Linked DNA regions of Homo sapiens: region 2 is linked to region 1. Evidence: promoter capture Hi-C in human tissues and cell types (Jung and others, 2019). All regions are on one chromosome and are shown on one strand. The core of a region is centred on a gene start or on the middle of the fragment in contact, and the rest is flanking DNA. Distances in the headings are between cores, read along the strand shown.

What was found. Contacts are between HindIII fragments. The study calls those that stand out against the background at their distance.
Region 2: a fragment that was not itself captured here is called in contact with the fragment with the promoter of DEPDC1B in region 1 in 2 of the 25 tissues and cell types used here (H1 embryonic stem cells and hippocampus).

What each region holds. Positions count from the first base shown.
Region 1 is chr5:60,698,765-60,701,559 of GRCh38, reverse strand. It overlaps DEPDC1B (DEP domain containing 1B), which reads left to right and starts at 1,394. Exons shown (of 11, transcript NM_018369.3): 1 at 1,394-1,514. The coding sequence starts at 1,467. LOC124900982 (a long non-coding RNA gene) reads right to left here and starts at 1,320. Exons shown (of 2, transcript XR_007058779.1): 1 at 1,219-1,320. The HindIII fragment of the contact is 4,370 bases long and covers 1-2,795 here.
Region 2 is chr5:59,763,627-59,766,421 of GRCh38, reverse strand. All of the region lies in intron 1 of PDE4D (phosphodiesterase 4D), which reads left to right. Among named protein-coding and RNA genes, the nearest start is that of MIR582, 61 kb to the right of the region's middle. The HindIII fragment of the contact is 9,367 bases long and covers 1-2,795 here.

The DNA.
Region 1 (2,795 bases), core at 145-2,644:
CTACGCACTAGATCTCTCAAGTCACTGGCTTGGCCCTCTTCCAAGTGTACTTCCTTTCATTCAAAGCTTTTTAATAAACTTCACTTCTGTTCTAATACTTGCCTTGGTCTCTCCTTTTGCCTTATGCCCCTCAGTCGAACTCTTTCTTCTGAGGAGTCAAGAATTGAGGTTGCTGCAGATCTGTAGGAATTCACTGCCTGTAACATACTTTGGGGCCGTGTCTCGGATATGGGCAGCTGCTAACATATTTTGGTGCCCTGTGACTCGAGTTAACTTCCACAGCTCACAAAGGCAGTAACATTTTCTAGGGAGTCACTAGAAGATATATGTAAAAAATCTCCTATATCTCCTAGTGGAAGATAGGGTTACTTCGTTAAGAATGTTTATTCAGGTCCACTGCAGCCTTCAATTCCAAGCCTTTGGTGATAAAGGCTATTTTCTCACCGTGGTAGGGAGAGGATGCCCATCCCAGAGAAATCTTTGTGGCCTGCTGCATCGAAGAGGCAGGTCAGCTTGCCCTTTCTGAAACTACCATTTCTCCAATGTTTTCCGCTCGAAATAATCAATATACCAATTAGGCATATTTTGGAATGGCACACCTTCACTCCTTCAACGTCTTGTCCTGGGTACTTACCGAGATGACCAAATTTGAGTAGGTGTACAGAGTCCTAAGTATATGGAGTTACTTCATTTGTCCCTCTGAAAGATTGCAAATCGGACTAGCAATTCCCAGGGGGAAAATTCTAAGCAGTCAAAAAAGGACTCACAACCCTATTGCCGAGGACTAAAAGTATCAGCCCAATACAAAACATAGAACTCAAATTAAAGGGGAAAAGACTATCATGAGAACAAACAGAAGAGGAATCGGGGCTCCCTTCCCGCTCTTTATTGCCCTTAACACACTGTCTACGCTCCTTGTGCTCTCTATCCCGTTTTTAAATGTCCCTACACTGGTAAAAGCTGTCGCCTCGCTTCATTTCACTACCGCTTCTCCCAGCGTTAGCAGCACCTCCAGGCTCACAGTGCACTTGGTAGGGAGGACAGGTATTTATCCACGCGGCCCAAAGCTGGGTTTCGGTCGCTGGATAACACCTATTATTGACCCTTTTGTAGAGATAGCGTTGCGTGTGTTTGTGTTGCGCGGACGCAGAAATCTGGGAAGGGCGCTGCACAGCGTTTTCCAGCGCTGGGGAGACGCCCCCGGCCCCTTAGTCGCACCTGCCTAGGTGTGCTCGCACGGTGGGACCAGGGTGGGCAACAGATTTCGCCCCGGGCAAGTTCGCACGCGGAGCTCCCAGCGCCGCGGGTCTCGGAGAAGACGCCTGCCTCCCCGCGCATTTCCGGTGACGTGCTGCCGCGCCGCCCAATCAGCGCCCGCAGCCCGCGGGCTTGGGATTCAAACTGCTGCTCCTCCGGCTGGCGGGGATCAGCGCTGGCGCGGCTGCGGCCGCTGCTGCCTACGCGCCATGGAGCATCGCATCGTGGGGCCCGGGCCGTACCGAGCTACCAGGCTGGTGAGTGAGTGTGCTGGGGCCTGGGCGGAGCACCCGGTGCCGCGAGCCCCCACTCAGCGCGCGGACAGAGTGCTTGTCAGTCTTCGCTTCCGCAGGCCAGCGGGGCTCGGGTGTGGAGCATTTCAGCTGGGACTACTGGGGCTGCCTTTTAGTGGACGAGCCTCAAAGAAAGGCTAACGGGGCCCAGAGCTCAGCCGGCCGGGGGTTAGTGCAGCTTTGTCCATGAGATGTTGACTGGGTTCTCGGCAGTAGATGGCGCCTCTCTGTTTAAAGACCCCAAGACCAGGCTGTTCCCTGCCTTTTGTCCTCTGGAATCTAACCGACCCGGTCGGTAACCTGAGGGGCCACCACGTACCCCGTAACGCTCAGCGTTCGCGGCAGTCCAGGCAGGGCGTGTCTCCTTCCTGAGTGACACCTGATGATACCTGACGGGGTATTCGAATAAACGGTGCCCAGAACAGAGGGGCATCGCGCTGGCCGCATTTCCGGCCCCTGGCGTTTCTGTTTCTGTCAGCACCGATCCAGATGAAGAGCTGGCCAGGACAGATGTTTTAGGAGAGTCTTTGCCGACTCTGAGTTCCTGTTTTTTTTTTTTTTTTTTTCTGGGAGAAAAGCTTTGGTATTGAGGTGTACTTGGTCTGCTTTGACTTGGAACAATAAAGGGTGACAGTTTGGTAATGTCTGTGGCAAGTTTTTAGAGGACTTTCTGTGGAAGTGTAATGGTAATTTGGGAGGACAGTAACTTGCTCCTTGGTCTGCCGACCTCTCTGGCCACATTTAACATGGGAATTACTCTCATAGTTCCATGCATTATAATGAATACACAGGAAAAGATGGGAACTAACATCCAAACTCTTACTCAGCTAGACTCATGGAAGAGGTGAGGATGCTGGGATACAGATAATGTAAATAGAGTTTCCTTTTCTTTCCAAAGCCAGCCACACACTATACCAGTAAGTCAAGCCAGAGCTGAGAAGGCCAGCTTCTGGAAGAGAAATCATAGTTGGGGCTGATGGGTCTTTACTTTTTAAATTTGGCTCATAGATCGCTTTGAGAATCTGATGAAGATTAAGGATCTTCTTCACAGAAAACTGCACATGGCACATACTCATGAAATTTTACATGATTTAAGGGGATGGATCGCTTGAGGTCAGGAGTTCGAGACCAGCCTGGCCAACACAGCAAAACCCCGTCTGTACTAAAAATACAAAAATTAGCTGGGCATGGTGGCATGCGCCTATAGTCTCAGCTACTCAGGAGGCTGAGGCAGGAGAATCTCTT
Region 2 (2,795 bases), core at 172-2,671, 940 kb after region 1:
TTCTGGTGCTGTTTGGAAAAACTTCATGAGCACAATTTCTATCAATATTTCATTTTAGTGTATCAGGTCACAGCCCAGTAAGAAAAGCATAAAGAGAGCAATGGAAACCAGAAATAAAAATCATGGTATCGATTTTCAGTAACTCAGAAGGAAGCAGTTTCCCCTATGGACTAAAACTATCAGGCAAGGGAGTTGGAAAGAGTATCTCAAGTTTTCCATATTGGTTGAATGAGCCCCAAGACGTTCATAATATCCACAGGCATCTTTTGACAAAAATCTCATTTGTGCTTTCACAGTTTGTGCTAAGCACTATGGAGAATTTTGAAAATATGTTTCAAATTGTTCTGACATAAATATAAATATATTTGTATCTAATTTGTTGCTAGTACAGTGTTCTGCCTCACAGTTTCCTGCTCCTGGTATTCCCCTCCATTCGCTATGCATACACTTAATACCTACTGAGTCTAACATGTTTATTCTGTACCTAATTATTACAAAGTTGAGCAAGAACCATTTGTTGGTTTCCAATAATTTATACCATGGTAGAATAAATCAATAATATTGGAAGACATCTGTTTTAGCTAAGATAATCTTGCTGTTCTACAAAATAGTCTCCAAATCTCATTGGATTGACACAGTGAATTTTTATTTCTTGCTTCTGCTTTTTGTGGGGAGGCAGCCTGCCCTAGCCACTGGGTGCCTCAGGGACCTGGAATTCTACCATCCTGTGGTTCCATTATTTGCAACATGTGATTCCCAAGGTTGCCAGGCTCAGATGAATCAGGAGAAAGACCATGAAAGAGGATGGTATGTGTGAACTTTTATGAGACAGGCCGGGAAGTGCACATGTCACTTATACTCGTTTTCTTCTGGCTGGAACTCAGTTCTATGGCCACATCTAACTGCAAAGGAGGCTGGGAAACATAGCTCTGTTCCAAGGCATAAGGTAAAGTGCTGGTGGCTAATCTATCTTGGTTATATAGTATGTTAAGGGCTATCTGATTTACCCTCTATGCCATGGTTGAATTCTTAGAATAACATCTGTAATAACATATGCCATTGTTGAATTCTTAGAATAACATCTGTAATAACAAGTCCTTGAACCTCTCGTCAAACCTCCTTGATGAAGATTATACAGAAGCACTTCTGTTGTTTGATAGGGCTGTTGATTGGAAAGACCTTGCTTCTAAACAGTAGAAGTCTCCTTCCCTGCAACTATCATCCATGGATCCAAGATCTGCTTTGGGAATCCTACAACTTGAATTTTTGCTCCCTTCCATTATGAAGCCCTAAGGCAAGTGGCTTGGAGTAACCCACCAGAGAACCAGGGCCCTATTCATTCATTTTGGTATACCCATGCTTGGCATGATGGCTGGTCAATGGTGGAAGCTTAATAAATGTCTGCTAAACAAATTCATTAATCAATATTTTAGTGTTCTCATGCTCTTAAAAAAGACTTCTCTTGGGCTAAGCATGGTGGCTCATGCCTATAATCCTAGCACTTTGGGAGGCTGAGGAGGGCGGAGTCCCTGAGCTCAGGAGTTTGAGACCAGCCTGGGCAACATGGCGAAACACCGTCTCTACTAAAAATACAAAAAATTAGCCAGGCATGGTGATGTGTGCCTGTAATCCCAGCTCCACAGGAGGCTGAGGCACGAGAATCACTTGAACTCAGGAGGCGGAGGTTGCAGTGAGCCATGATTGTGCCACTGCACTCCAGCCTGGGTGACAGAGCAAGACTCTGTCACCAAAAAAAAAAAAAAAAAAAAAGGGACTTCTCTTTTCTTAAGTAAACATCCTGTTATTTCATTTCTATATGCTATATTTACCAGGTAGTTTTTATCTAGACTTCTCTTGGGTTTTCATGATCCATTTAAAGAATAGCTACTGAATTGACAGCATACTCTAGGTGCTATGTCACTCAGCACCAAAGCAGTTAGAAAAGAGACTAAACTTAAATTCTTACTTTGCATTTAGTAATTGTGTGACTTTGGTCAAGTTACTTAACGTGTGCTTCAGTTTCCCCGTTAGTCAGTTTTCTGGGAATAGTATCTATTGGGGGTTGTGGTTTAATTAAGTACAATTATGTATAAATTAAGTGGTTTCACAGGGCTGGACCCTTAGTGGGTGTCATTATAAGCTAGTATTTTTTTTATTATGTACTCTGTGCCCATTATTCCAGCCTTGGTCTGCATGAACCTTTAGGATCATGTTTAAATTTCTAGATGATTACTCTGTCAGTCATTTGTGGATGAATTAGAGTGAAGAGACAAGAGTTGAAAGAAACGAGTGTATGTCAGTTTTATTACTGTAGGAAAGGAGAAGGCAGAAATGAGAGATACTACTGAGGCAGAACTGTGGGGTTTGGTGTCTCTTCTCTGCCCACTGCAAAAATACATCTTTCAAATTCCTGGTTTTCCTAAAAGGTTCCTCCAGTTCTCCCAACTGGAAGTAATCCGTTCCTTCCTTCAAGGAACAGATTTCTATTGCGCCTCTTGTCTCTGATACTCTCAATGCTTATTAGTAATAGTTTTATCACTAGCTAGTATGTGTTGAGCACTGGTTTTGGTCTGGCACCATCTGTTAGGATTAGAATTCTCTTGTGTCTCTGCTTTTCACTAATCTGTTTGACTGCTTTTACTAAACATGCAATGCCTTGTAGTTCTAGTGATTATAGACATGATTCAGATTTCATCTGGTAGGGGATTCCCTCTATCATCAGCAGGAACTACAAAGTCAATGGAATCTCTGGTGAAGAAAACTTAACTTCCAGTACTAGTTTATTTCAGGAAAAT